Regions from separate parts of the Homo sapiens genome. Here region 2 is linked to region 1. Evidence: promoter capture Hi-C in 16 types of primary human blood cells and fetal thymus (Javierre and others, 2016). All regions are on one chromosome and are shown on one strand. Each heading gives the region's core, a stretch centred on a gene start or on the middle of the fragment in contact. The rest is flanking DNA. Distances are from core to core; before and after follow the strand shown. Region 1 holds the start of RNF138 (ring finger protein 138). Region 2 holds the start of MEX3C (mex-3 RNA binding family member C).

Region 1 (7,290 bases), core at 1,901-4,400:
ATAAGTTGATTTGAGAAAGGTCCTGAATTAAAAACAATCATCTCCAACATTTTCCACAGTCTTGAGGTCAAATCAAATTATAAACCTTGATTTAAAATGTCCCACAAGGGAAGCGGACTAGAGCAATCTACACGGAATTTTGGGGAGTGCTAAAAACTACAATGAGGCCCATTAGGTCAATGACCCAAAGGATAATTAGAATGATTCTATCCAAAAAAGACCTGCTTTATATATATATATATAGTTAGCAGCTATTACAACTTCCTCTCACCTTGCTCTCCTCCCTCCCTTTTATCTACCCAATGCCAACACAGCACTTAAATTTTTTTTAAATATTGGAAAGGGACCAAGTTATGCTAGATTAAAGGTGGAAGATCTATATTGTGCCCTAGACACCTCCAAACGTTTTTTTTTTCATGTCAGATGGGTAATGTGCTGACCCTGTAACAAGGTTTGAGGATGGCATATCTCACACATGCCTGTGAACACTCAATCATCACACTATGAACCGCAAAAGGATCCCTCAAAACATTTCCCTAAGAATCTGCATTTGTTGCACAAAATAACAAGATGTCATTCATCTCCCTTAAAGAGCAAAAGCGTAACTGGCATAATTTCTATCATGAAAATCCACACACTCTTGGCTCACACAACCAGCACAAAATAGAAATAAAGTAGACAGTGCAGTTAAGATTGGGGAAAAAATGAGAAGAGTTGGTATCAAGAAAACAGCCACAGTAAGGGCATTTGCAATTAAGAACCAAAAATTCAATCCATCCTTTACAAAATTATAGAACCTCACCTCAAAAAAAAAAGAAAAAAAAGTCGAAGGAGAATGAAATACATTTAGAAGGTTGGTCAATTCTTTTCAGTTGTTTGCAAACACACGTAACTTTCAAGCCTGAGTGTGTTTTTTAAAAATAAAGATTTCCGGGCGGGGCGCGGTGGCTCACGCCTTTAATCCCAGCACTTTGGGAGGCCGAGGCGGGAGGATCACGAGGTCAGGAGATCGAGACCATCCTTGCTAACACGGTGAAACCCCGTCTCTACTAAAAAAAAATACAATAAATAAATAAATAAAGATTTCCAGGCCCCACCTGCCCGAACATTCTTTTGTTAAGTTTGAAATGGAGCCTGGGAATTGGTATGTTTACTTAAAAAGTTCCCCGGGGACTCTGATCATCAGTCAGGTCTGTCAGAAGGGCTATACACCTTCTCAACAAGGGCTCTTTCCAACCCTTACTCACACCCTAGCTGTCCATAAAATTTTATCAAAGTTCTTGTAAATATGCCTGCCAATCAAACGCATGCGTTATCTCACCCAACCCCTTTGTGTTCTCCCCCACCCTGGGTAGCATCTCAATTTCGGCTCATTCCTCATAACAGAAGTCTTCCTTTCTCCTCTCCACCCTTGTATTAATCAAGTAATAAGTAAGCAGAAAGGTAAAACAAAGGGGAACGCTCATTTCAATGCCCGAAAATCCTGTCAGTTTTAAGAGACCAGAGAAGAAAACTCATTCTAGATCCCTCTAACACATAGTGGACTGGAAACGAAACAAAACGCTCTCGAGGGTGTTCTGTGAAGCAGGGTTGAGGGGAAGTTACAGAAGAGCTCTTGGACCGAGGGGACGGACCAAGGTTCTGAAAGAGGAAACTTGAAAGCAGGGCAGGTCGCGGGGCGAGCGGGCCCGCGCGAGCACCGCCGGCCGCTTTTGACACTCGACACCCCAGCCTTCACCCGGGTTGCTAAGAAACAAAAAGGCTCCAAGATCCCTGCAATTCCTCCCGGGCCTGGCGGAGACGACAGGGGCCTCCGGGGCCTGAAGACGCCGCAGGGAACGGCCTGGCCACTGCCCCGGGGGCGCGAAAGCCAGGGAGAGCGGGAGAGCGGGAGAGCGGGAGAGCGGGAGAGCGGGAGCTTGGGCTGAGGGGGCTGGACGCGGGGAGCGGGCCCCGAGGCTGAGGAAAAGGCCGCCCCGGGACTCTGAGGGGCGGGGAACGGGACCTCGCGGGGCAGCGACGCTCGGGCAGGCCGCGGCGGGCTCGGTTCCCGCCAGGCGGCAGCCCGGGGTCCCGGGCCGGAGGCCGGGCCTAAGCGACAACCCGGCTCCGCGAGGGGGAGGGGGCGTCTACTCACACGTGCTGACAGGCCGTGGTCCGCACGGGCGTTTTGAGCACCTCCTGACAGACGGGGCAGTAGAAATCATCTTCGGTGTAGGACGTGGCCGCAGAGAGGTCCTCGGCCATGGCGGGGGATGGGGAAACAAGGCGATGGCGACAGCGGCAGCGGCCGAGGTGACGGTGGCGGCCCGGGGCCCGACTCCCTACATGAACCCGGAGGGGGGAGGGGGATCGCATCAGGATACAGCGCGCGCCAGGAAGGGGGCGGGGCCCTGGGTAGGGCGGGGCCGAACGCAGAGACGCTACTGCCGCACGCGCCGGGCAAGAGGCGACCCCTCCCACGGCTCCTCCCACAGGGGGCTGGATGGGGGACGGTGCTTGGCGGGAGGCTGGGCTCGCAGCATGCCGTGGGCCCGCCCCGCTCGCCCCTCACCCCGCCCCAGGACGCGGCCTCACGCTCTAGGCCACGCCCTCACCGGGCTCCAGGCGCGGGCTCGCGCCCCGCCCTCAGCCCCCGTCTTCGCCCAAGGCCTCCCTTTTCACTGCTTTTCCGCCTCTACTCACCCCGACCCCGAGCCCCGAGTGCCCAGCCCGTGTCCGCGGCTTCCTCCCCGCCCCGCTTCCCGGCACCCCGGCCCCTCCACGCTTCCGCCGGGGAGACTCTCACCTAGGAGCCCCGAAGCGGCGTTGTGGACGGAGCTGCTTTTCCTTCACGTGTTCGTAGAGACCCGGCCCAGCGCTTTCCTCGAGCTTCCTGTCCGGCCGCCGCTATCTTCGCAGCCGAGGCCCCGGGGCAAATGGAGGGCGGCGTGCGCTGTGCTTATCGGCCCCTAACGGGGCCGGAGCCGAGGCTCATGGTGCAGGGAGATTCGCCCGCCGCCGCCAGCAGCTCTGTCTTGGCATTGCGCTGCCTACAGCCTACCCGGCCGTCACCGAACGCGGGAGCGCCGGGGATCTGGGCGGAGGAGCCAGGAGAGGCGGGGAGGCACGGGGTGTGAAGTGCGGCCTGTATAGCAACCGGCGCACGGCGCCTTCCGCGGGTTGTGACGTAAGCAGCTGGGCGCCCGCGGTGACACCTGCGCCTCCCCGCCCCGCCTCGCTAGGCCCGGGACCCCAGTTACCTCTCCTGTCAAATACATTGGGCCTTTCAGGAAGTTTTCGTCAATGTTCAAGATTTAGTCTTTACTATTTGCCCTACCAGAATGTTTTGATCTTGTCAAGATGTGTTATAAACAAATATTTGTTACGGGATTTTAATCCTTTGGGGGCAGGATTAAAGTTTCCTTGAGAGGATGTCCACTTTCTCCTTTAACAGCATGACCGATGCTTAAATACGGTCGCAGATGCAGTCTTCTACTACACCTTTGGGTTGATTTTTGATTTTTTCTTTTTTTTTTTAGCTTTGAAGAGAAATGCCGTAGAAGCATGGACGTGGCTTTTCACCAAGGTTATTCACTAATTTAAGTGTTTTTTTTAATTTTATTTTATTTTATTTTATTTTTTGAGACAGGTACTCACTCTGTCTCCCAGGCCGGAGTGCAATTATCTGTACAATTGATAATCTATAAGATGGTCCAACCTGCGTAACAGAGTGAGATTCCGTCTCAAAAAAAAAAAAAAAAAAGAAAGAAAAAAGGCCGGGCGCGGTGGCTCACACCTGTAATCCCAGCCCTTTGGTAAGCGAAGGCGGTTGGATCACTTGAGGTCAGGAGTTCAAGACCAGCCTGGCCAACGTGATGAAATCCCATCTCTACTAAAAATACAAAAATTAACCGGACATGGTGGTGGGAGCCTGTAATCCCAGGTACTCGGGAGGCTGAGGCACGAGAATCGCTTGTACCCGGGAGGCAGAGGTTGCAGTGAGCCGCGATCGCGCCGCTGCACTCCAGCCCTGGCGACAGAGTGAGACTCTCAAAAAAAAAGAAGAACAAAAAAAGGATAAATCGATAAGATGGGATCCACAATGACGTGAAAGAAGCTAAGGAAAATCTGGAACATTATACAGCATCTACAATTAGCTTCAGAGAAAAGAAAGGTTTTATTACCATCCTTTGTTAAAACCCTCCCCCATGGTCTAAATGAATAAACAGAAGCCATTTAAGGGACTATTTAAATCAATTCTGCCATTTATTGTCTATGTTGACATTGGCATTGTTAGGTGTTATGCAGATGTCATGAACTTTGCTCTCAACCTGTTTACATTATTACATATCTATCAGAATGAGAGAGAAAAAATGGTATTTGCCAAAGTATTAAATTTTGCATTAAACGATGGCTATAATGAGGATAGGAAATGGAATGATTAGAAATATATAGAGTTAACAGAAAACTTTATGGAGGAAATGGGTTTTAATGTACATCTCAAAAGCATTGATTCCTAGAATAATAATAATTTGTCCAATGAATAGCTAATTCCCTCTACCAAACTATATTTTGTATTTTTGTTGCTTTTCCTCCTTAGCAGCAAGCGCAGTGGAAGCAAGACAAGAAAGCTAATACTAGCTTCAGATTTCCTGGAAGGAGGAAGAGCACGTGACGAGAGGGGCAGCTAATAGCAGTAGTTCAGGTGCTTTTCACATTCACTTATAAAATGGTTCTTTGAGTTCAAATTTTTAACAGCCCAGAGAAGAAAACTCACTTTTTTTCTTTTTTCTTTTGAGACAGAATCTCACTCTGTCACCCAGGCTGGGGTGCAGTGGAATGATCTCAGCTCACTTCAACCTGCGCCTTCCAGGTTGAAGCAACTCTCCTGCCTCAGCCTCCCAAGTAGCTGAGATTACAGGCATGCACCACCATGCCAAACTAATTTTTGCATTTTTAGTAGAGACAGGGTTTTGCCATGTTGGCCAGGCTAGTCTCGAACTCCTGGCCTCCAGCGATCCGCCCACCTTGGCCTCCCAAAGTGCTGGAATTACAGGCCTGAGCCACTGTGCCTGGCCTACATTTTACTTTTTTGATAATTCCACTCATTTCATTCATTCTGACCATTTAGGAAGTAAGGTGTATTTTCTGTATAATAGTGTTTCCCATTATTCATTGGGAATATCTAACCATAACATTAATTTTGTGACCCTAATTTTATTTGCTTCATTCTTTCTCTGCAACGGCAGCTTTACTTATGTCTAATCCAAACATATTTGTATCACTCCCCCATATATTCTAATAAGTCATTCGGTATACACGTAAGCATATAGCTGGCAATATGTGGAAATCCAGCAAAAACTTGGACATAAGAAAAATATAGATACCCTTGGAAAGTTAAGCTTAAAAAAATAAGTTGCAATTACCAATGACACAATCTTCTTTCTTGGCAACATTTCTGGTGAAAAGCTACTTGATATTTTTATAAGAATGTCATAGATTTACTCAAAATACATTCAGCTGCGTAAATAAAATGTCCTCAGCCTTTGGTCATTAGAAGGGAAAACCCTAGATGTAGACCGATTTGGTAAACTGTGCTGCAATAATTTAAACAGTTCCTTTAAGTTTGGGTTAAACCAGTCAGTCCCTCTCAGTGGGCTTCCCTCAGAATGGCATTTGGGAGAAGGGAAGGGAGGATGATGGGTAGCTGACATGAACTCAAGGCACTATAGGGGAATCTGGCTCCTGAAATCTGCAAGTTCTCTTTTGCATTTTTGCCGGATTTTCTTTAGCCAGACTAATTTTCTCTGCTCCTTGAGATGTAATGTGTCCTGGGTGTTCTCTTGCTGAAACTTGCTGATGAAGATTGCTCGGACCTGTCTCTCAGCTGGGCCAAGGCCCTGAGATATGTCCTAGCTTCACCAACACTGTAAAACCTTCTGATTCCTGCCACGATCACCTTCCAATTCCTTAACCCTCAACATGGCAGGCTCCTTAGCAGGCTCTCTGGCTCTCAACACAACTACTGTCTATGACATCCTTTGTGGTTCTCCCTCTGGTTCTGAACAGCCTGTAAGGCCATGTGCTTCCAGGGCACACACTCCAACCCATCTAAACCACCTTTCCCCCCCAGAATGAAGCCCCTACTTTGTTTCTTCTCCTACAGTCTCTTGGATTAGAAGGAATGGACTTTTCCCCTTGCCACTTCTTGCTGATTGGGTGCTCTAAAACTCTCCAGTCAAGACCAGGCGTGGTGGATCATGCTCCTAATCCCAGCACTCTGGGAGGCCGAGGCAGGCAGATCACTTGAGGTCAGGAGTTCGTGACCAGCCTGGACAACATGGCGAAACCTGTCTCTACTAAAATACAAAAATTAACCGGGCATGGTATGCATGCCTATAGTCCCAGCTACTCCAGAGGCTGAGGCAGAAGAGTGGCTTGAACCCAGGAGGCAGAAGTTGCAGTGAGCTGAGATGGCACCACTGCTCTCCAGCCTGGGTGACAGAGCGGGACTCTGTCTCAAAAAATAAAAAATCAAAATAAGTAAATAAAACTCTCCAGTCAAGTTCGATGGATCTTGATATGCAAAAGAGAAAAATAAAATAATTTAGAATACTGATTTCTTGACAAGGCCTGGCTTTATCTTACTACAAACCTTCAAAATCCTGTTTTGCTGGTAAAAGTGATTGCCTTTGAAGAAGTGAACTGGGAAGCTGGAGGATGGAACAGGAGAGAGGCTCATGTTTCACTCTCTACCCTTTGGTATCTTTGTAAATTGCTACCATGTGCAGTGTTGACACTCAGCTGGTTTGTACCAGTACCATTTTCCTAGTCTTTTTCAGCCTTGTCCATCCTGACTGGTGAGTAGTCTGTCCTGAATGACCAGTGCCAATTTGGTTCCAGTTGCTAAATATTTTTATTTTAGCAAATATTAGCTAAATATTACTCTTGACTATGTACATACACAACTGTTCCATGAAAGGGCTATATATGCAAAGTGACTCTCAAATGCAGAAGAAGCCAAAAATCCAAAGAAGAGGCAAACAAATCCAGTTTGCTGGTAGCAGGTGATTTACTGGGGAACTTGTGGATGGAAGTGTGGTCTTGGGCAGCAGCAAGACAGGTGGATCTTCGTATTGTTATCCTGCAGACCATAAGGAAAGGGTATACATAATGTGCAGGAAAATTAAAGTTCACCCCTGAGGGAAAGACAAGAATACTATGTGCATTACAGCCTATAATTTGCTTAAGGGCAGGATTTATGATTAAGACCATGCTCTTTTTACACAAGGAATCATAAAGAAGAAC
Region 2 (7,290 bases), core at 2,641-5,140, about 19 Mb before region 1:
GTAAAGTGAACAATCACAGTCCCTCTCCGCGCGTGCCGGGAGGAATGAGAGGGAGGTGGGCGGGGAGAGGACGGAAGGAGTAGGCTTCGGGAACTGGCTGGTCCCGGTCACCCAATCAGAGAGCTCTGGGGAGGGGAGGGGCGGGGCCCGAAGGAGGGTGGGGGGTGGGGCTGGGGAAAGGAGTTGGAAGGCTGCGGGAGGAGAAGGCGGGCTCCCAGAGATTAAAAGCACCCAATCAGAGCGCGCCGGCTTCATTCGGAGAGCGGCGTGGGGCGTAGCCGCCGCCGCCGCGCGCGCCGGGGGCTGGTTAAGGCCATGAAACAAAAGAAACACTGAGAGGGGAGCCGCTGCCACCTCCACCAGCCCGCCCCGCCGCCGTCCCCACCCACCCACCTAGTTACCTACCTCTGCCTCCTTCCCCTGCCCCTCCACCCCGCCCTCTCCGGTCTCCGGGCGGCCCTGGCGCTCCTCGGCCCGGGTCCCCAGCCCCGCCGCCTCCCCAGAGGAAAGGTGTTTGCGAGCTGAGCAGGGCCCTGGCCCTGTCCGCCATGGGGCTCGCCGCCTGCCGCGCCTGACCCGGCCGCCGCCGCCGCCATTGACAGCGCGCCGCCGCGATGCCCAGCGGCAGCTCCGCGGCCCTGGCCCTGGCGGCGGCCCCGGCCCCCCTGCCGCAGCCGCCCCCGCCGCCGCCGCCGCCACCGCCGCCTCTGCCGCCGCCCTCGGGCGGCCCGGAGCTCGAGGGGGACGGGCTCCTGCTGAGGGAGCGCTTGGCCGCGCTAGGCCTCGACGACCCCAGCCCGGCGGAGCCCGGCGCCCCGGCGCTTCGGGCCCCGGCAGCGGCGGCGCAGGGCCAGGCCCGGCGGGCGGCGGAGCTGTCTCCAGAGGAGCGGGCTCCGCCCGGCCGGCCCGGGGCCCCGGAGGCGGCCGAGCTGGAGCTGGAAGAGGACGAGGAGGAGGGGGAGGAAGCGGAGCTGGACGGAGACCTGCTGGAGGAGGAGGAGCTGGAGGAAGCAGAGGAGGAGGACCGGTCGTCGCTGCTGCTGCTGTCGCCGCCCGCGGCCACCGCCTCTCAGACCCAGCAGATCCCGGGCGGGTCCCTGGGGTCTGTGCTGCTGCCAGCCGCCAGGTTCGATGCCCGGGAGGCGGCGGCCGCGGCGGCGGCGGCGGGGGTGCTGTACGGAGGGGACGATGCCCAGGGCATGATGGCGGCGATGCTGTCCCACGCCTACGGCCCCGGCGGTTGTGGGGCGGCGGCGGCCGCCCTGAACGGGGAGCAGGCGGCCCTGCTCCGGAGAAAGAGCGTCAACACCACCGAGTGCGTCCCGGTGCCCAGCTCCGAGCACGTCGCCGAGATCGTCGGCCGCCAGGGTGAGTGCAGGGGTGGGGAGGTCCAGCTGGGCATGGCCCCGGGCGTGGGTGGGGAGACGAGAGAAAGGAGCGTGGGACGGAAAAGGCGAACCCGGCGAGGCCCCCAAGTCCACCGCGAAGGGGTCTGGGAGGAGCCGAGGGTCGACCAGATGTGAAGATGGGTCACCTTGCGAAAACCCACGCTTTTCCGCCCGTCTTGCCTGGTAAAAAGTGTGAAGTTTCTCGGGCGACCCAGTCCGGTGGTGTTCACGTTACTTGGGCTGTATTCGTGGAACACCAGGCTGGCGTGGCACCAGAAACCTCAGTGAGGTGGTAAAAGGTCGGGCTCGAGGAGTTGTGGGTTCGCTGTTGGGTACGGAAAGCTTCGAGATTGCAAGTTTGCGCCGCCGAGTGTCTTCTAAAAGCGTTCAGCCTCCCTTACAAGAACTTGTTCAGATGGAGAAAAGAACAGAAATGGAGGCCTGTAGACAGAGCTCACTGGGGAGGGAAGGGGTGTTCAAATGGTCGGTATCACCGCCATCCCCTGCCCCTCCGCTGTTGAGAAACTTAGCTTTGGAAAAGCAGCCCAACTCACTGCCGCCTATCTTAACTGTATTTCTCTCGGTACGTTTCAACTCTCGGAAAGACACACTGACACACTGGCTGTCTTTTAAAACTGTTCAGTGTGCAGGATGAAGAAAAAATGGACACTAAGGTAATTAAGAAACTTCATCGGTTTATACAGTTTTCAGTTAATTCTCCTCTTCACTTGCCAGCACACCAGTACTGCAGACAGACTCCTCCCACATTGTTCAGACAAAGGACCTGTGTCTCAGATTCCAGGAGTAGATTTGTGAAGGTGGGGGAAGGGGATGCCTGGGGTACCTCTGTATCCGACATTTTTAGGGAAGGTCCTAAGTTCTTTATGGTAGCATTTCCCCTTTATGAAAGGGGCAGATGTTACCTGCTGCCACCGCATGACAATGTGGTTTAGCCTGGTTGTTGCATGCCTCTTTACTGTTAGGTTGAGAGCATTGTTGGGGTCAAATAAAGAGAGATGATGGCGCTGCCGCTTAAATGATCTCATCTTTCCCAGGTGGTCTAAAGTACACATAAATAAGAGCTCTGTCGAAATGGTGGTTTCACATATCAGACTTGGCTTATTTCTTTCCTATCTGTAGGATTTTAATAAAAACTCATCTGAAATCTGGATAAAGGAGATAGCTTAGTTCAGACTGCCTGATGATTGGCACTTACAGACACTGTTCAAAGCTGGACCTTTCAATTGAAAGGTAGCTTATGCTTGTCGTTCTTCTGGTTAATGAGTTTCAGATTCCTGGATTGTTTGGTTTTGGCGATACTTAGAGTAATAATCCAGGAGAAAACTTTTGTTTACATGGGATAAAATTACAACATCTCAATTTGGATCAGAATGAGTTGACCATTCATGTAAGAACACTGAGGAATCGCTATGTACCAAGCTTGTATTTTGCCAGGTTTTGAGTTTGTGGTATTGAGAATGTGAAGTTAATTCAGACTTTCTGCCCTTAAGAAGATAACAGTCTAATAAACAGTAGAATGGCACTAACTATAGTGTATTTAGTATGACAAAGTCTCAGGTAAGAGAACATCTATGGAGAGGGCCTTGGAAAATGGGTAGGAAGGAGTCTAACAAATGGAGATTGAAAAACTGTGGAGGAACAATGTGAGGAGGGGTGTGGAGGACTAGCCTAGGTATAATTGCCAAGTAGTGTTGTTTTGATACTTGAGGTCTGTAAAGGGGAGTGGTGGAAAAGGGGGAAGGCAGGCGTTCACACCAGAATGTGAAGAAGCCTGAATGCCATATGAAGATGCCACTTCTCAGGACAAGTTGCTTCCGTGTGCTTATGGTAACAGTCTAGGGTAACAAAGGAAGAAAACATTTACGTGCCAGTTTTACTGAAGGACAAGATAACATATTTTATAGATTTAGTTTAATACAAACTTTAGTCCTTCATTATAGTAGACACCCCTTAAAGCACTGCTAAATGGCCCTTACTTGTGTATGTTGTTAATCTTTATAGAAATCAGTTTTTTAAAAGTAAAGTGAATTCCAAGTTTTTATTTTGTACCAGCTATTACGTGATAGGAAATGAGATAAAGCCTTAGTTTTTCTTTTGAGGGCTGTGTTTATTTGGTTAATAAGGAAATGTTGAATTTAATTATGTCTTAGATCATGGAGACAAATTGCTGGCTCTTCCATTTAAACCTTGTATTTTCCCAGAGTTGACAATACTGTTAAAAGTATGTCATCATCCTCTATCTTAAAAGCAGAAAATCTGGTCCTTTTGCTGTTCTGAACCATACAACTTGTGGATCATTGACCCCTTTGCCACCCCCATGTCCCAGCAGCATAGTAATAAACCTGTAAAGTGTTTGCTCACTCGTATGGAGAACGAAGTGACTTCTAATGTTCACATTCTTTTACAGTATTATATTTCCCCACGGGAGAGAATCTGTCCTAAGTAAGTAAAACAGGGCAAATCATTTCATTTTCTTGTTTGCTTTGAAGGAGCTAAACTTTCATCCTTAAGATTAAATTATCCATTTCTGCCATTTTATGTATTACCTGAAGCCATAATTTTCTATTTGACATCTCTTAATTGATTTTGGAAATAATTATGTCACAGATGGAGACATTTATGACTTCAGCTCTGAAGCAAAGAGCAGGACAAATGGAATTCTGAGTCACATAGACTAGCAACTCATGTAGATGGCCTCTGAGTTCCAGTGTTTTTCTAAAACACAAACTACCGCTTTTGATACTGATGAAAGTTGGCAGAGTGTTTGACCTCGAATTTATACTCCCCAGTAGCATATGGTCATTTGTAAATGTTAAATTGGCCTTGTTTTTTAAAGCATTGCATCTGTTGTGAAACAACAATACTGTAAAATAAAGCCAGGAACTGAAGAGGCTTGTTGATATAATCAAAGAAGTTTTAGAATATGGACATCAAAAATAAACCTGACAACAGATTTTAAGACCTAATTTTATAAACTTAGAACGTCTCTGTTTTTAAGTATAGTACCTGCAAGACATATTAACAGTGATTAACAGGTCTAATTTTAGTCAGCAGGTTTTGTTCCAATTTGTACAGTCATTTATATCCATTTAGACTAAAAAGTGAATTAAAATAGAACTGTATACCCATTCTTAATACATTATAAATTAATACTAAATGTCATAAATTCAGTTGTTTAGAGACTTGTAACCCAAGATTTTGTATTACTATTAGGATAAATGTGTATCTTTCATTAGACTTTAATTAATGGTCTATGTGTGTTCTCTAGCCACATAGTCTAGAAAAGTCGTCTCTAGCTTCTTTTTATTGTACACCCTGTCCAAAAAAAATGTGCATACTCCCAATATCTGGATATTTATGTATGAATAGTAAGTGTGCTTAATATATTACACATTATAAAACAAAATTCTTTATTAACAATTAATACTTTACACTGTTTCAATTTGTCTTCCCAATTTCTTAGGGTGGAACCACCCTTCAAGCTCTAACACAACTGAAATAGGGTTTATACGTCTGTGACCAGGAGAAAAAGAGAAAGCTTGGTCTTGCTGTACATAAATTTTCTCTTCAAGGAGAAGTACATATTTCATGAGAATAAATAGTTTCAGAATGATGCTACAGCACAGTGTCTTTTTCTTTTATGGGGATGAGGGTGCATTGTTGGACTTCTCTTTGCTTAGTACTATGTTAGGTGCTTCACCAGTGCCGTTTAACCCTGCTAGGTGGTTACTGCCGTTTAGAGAGGTAGAAACAGAGGTTCTGAGAGCTAACTTGCTCAAATAGTTGAGATTGGATTTAGCATAGTTTGACATCAGAAATAAAATTCTTTGTACTCTACATTGCCACTTCAGTATTGAAGCATTCTGCTCTGGAAGGTTAGTATTTTGGATTAACTTGTGCCCTAATCGTAGGATACTGAATTTCTAATATGCATAATTTAAAATACCACTATCCAAATTAGTTTACTTGATAAAATTTTGGTGTCTGTACTACCCACAAGGCACAGTTTTAATTGTAATATAGTTCTAATGTGTCCAGCTAAAAATTTACTGTCATTTGTAGTACAGAAAGTTAATTTGCGTATATATATAGACACTAGCTTTAAAAATTAAATATTACAATTTTTCTAGGCTTTAAAATTTAAATTTCGTTAATAATGGTTTGTATTAGTTCTGGGACCCTTGAGAAGGGTTCAGTTACTGTAATTGTTTTTGCAAATGGGTGGGGAATCTACTGCCTTTCTTCCTGCCTTATTCAGCTAATGAACTATTCTGATTCACTAGGGAGGAAATGGGAAATGAAGTGGTAATTCAAGGGTGTATTTTGTACCCCTTGGTTACCAACAACCTGAAAATGATCCAGGGAACCAAGTATTTGTGTTAGTCTGTTAGAGATTTCTATCTAGAAAATTTTCAAACAATGTTTATAGGTTGGAATTCTAGGTGGTTCTTTACAGCGTAAGTTTTTAAGGAAAGGTAGCATTTAGTTATAAGGGAATGCTTAATATATTGCTGATTTGGTTTTGAATACTTTTGCCTTAAACATAAAAATGTTTTAGTATGTGTATTTTAATATCGTAGCTTATACAATATGTAAAAATACCTATTGTAGCTACACCAAACTGCCTGTGACAGTCTCTGTTCAGCTGTGGTATATTGGAAAGAACCAAATCAGAAATAGATATTCCTGTGCCAATAACTCACTGTGTAATCTTGAACAAGTCACTTAAACTCCCTAGGCTTCAGATTCCTCTTTTGCACCTGGGCATAATCATATCTACAATTCCTGTAGAGACTCTGGAAGATAAAGAAATCGACATATATGAAACTGTAAGTGCTAAGCACATTACTTTTGTTAAGGTAAATCTGAAATTAATTTGGAACCACCGTTTAATCATGTCCACCTTTTTTGGCTTTAGCAGATAGTTTGACTCATTATATTCTTCCAATGTAATAGAACTAGAACCAACGGATATCTGAATGCCTTTTAGATACTTGGCACTTCTGTCAAGATGGGCTTGTTATGCTGTGGTTAACAAAGAACTCTGACACCTCAGTGTTAAAACAACTATGGTTTATTTCTTGTTCATAGGGGCTCTGCTCATTTTAGTCATTCAGGGACACAGGCCAACAGCAGCCACCATCTCCAGTGTTACTGATCTTCTGTTGTGCCAGAAGATGAAAGACTACAGCATAGCACATACTGGTCTTAAAATGTTAGATCCGGAAGTAATGCTTATCACATCTGCTCATATTTCATTAAAGCAAATCATCTGGCCACACCTAACTTCAAAAGGCTGAGAAAGTATATGACAACTATGTGCCCACAAGGAGAGCCATGATGACTACTACAGTACTATTTTATAATTTATAGGATTGTTATAGAATTCTAAACAGTGTCATTCCTGCCATGTAGAATTTGTAACCAAACTCAAGATGAGAAAGTAGATAATGTTCATAAGATACTAAAGGAGTGTATTTGCACTTAAAAATAAAAAAAGCTTTTTAAGAAGCTCCAAGTAGATCATGGATAGTTATGTTTAAATCTCCATTGATATTCAGGTGATCCTTAAGTGATACCTTTTTTATTAAACTGCATTCTTAATGCTTCCCAAGTAGCTTATATGCCATAATTTGTGGATTTACTTTTAACATTTTCCCCATGCTACCATTAGTTACTATATAGAGACTTACAAAGATTAAATCTGATATTTAAGCCTTGAAAATAATTTTCTAATGTTAGGATTACCAAACCCAGATATACTAAATTGAATGTATGCATAGTCTAATACTGTTTGAGTAGTTCAAGTCTTTATTCTATAACTGACTTTGAGAATTTTAAGTTACACTAACTATAGGACCTCTTCCATGCCAGTGTTTGA

The links. The method cuts DNA at HindIII sites, captures the fragments that hold promoters and counts their contacts. A CHiCAGO score of 5 or more calls a contact.
Region 2: a contact is called between a fragment that was not itself captured here and the fragment with the promoter of RNF138 in region 1, in 1 of 17 cell types (total CD4 T cells). The highest score is 6.2, in total CD4 T cells.

The regions. Positions count from the first base shown.
Region 1 is chr18:32,087,734-32,095,023 of GRCh38, reverse strand. RNF138 (ring finger protein 138) reads right to left here and starts at 3,150. Exons shown (of 8, transcript NM_016271.5): 1 at 2,789-3,150; 2 at 2,138-2,324. The coding sequence starts at 2,247. It overlaps LOC124904278 (a long non-coding RNA gene), which reads left to right and starts at 3,079. Exons shown (of 2, transcript XR_007066327.1): 1 at 3,079-3,169; 2 at 3,522-3,749. It overlaps LOC124904366 (small nucleolar RNA U13), which reads right to left and starts at 520; the gene lies at 418-520. It also overlaps a transcript of RNF125 not described here. RefSeq lists a silencer at 2,312-2,731 and an enhancer at 3,402-3,451. The HindIII fragment of the contact is 10,157 bases long and covers 1-5,386 here.
Region 2 is chr18:51,190,645-51,197,934 of GRCh38, reverse strand. It overlaps MEX3C (mex-3 RNA binding family member C), which reads left to right and starts at 254. Exons shown (of 2, transcript NM_016626.5): 1 at 254-1,368. The coding sequence starts at 615. RefSeq lists silencers at 31-560, 581-690, 831-910, 1,171-1,220, 2,942-3,236 and 1 more and enhancers at 1,951-2,000, 1,629-2,250. The HindIII fragment of the contact is 2,119 bases long and covers 2,831-4,949 here.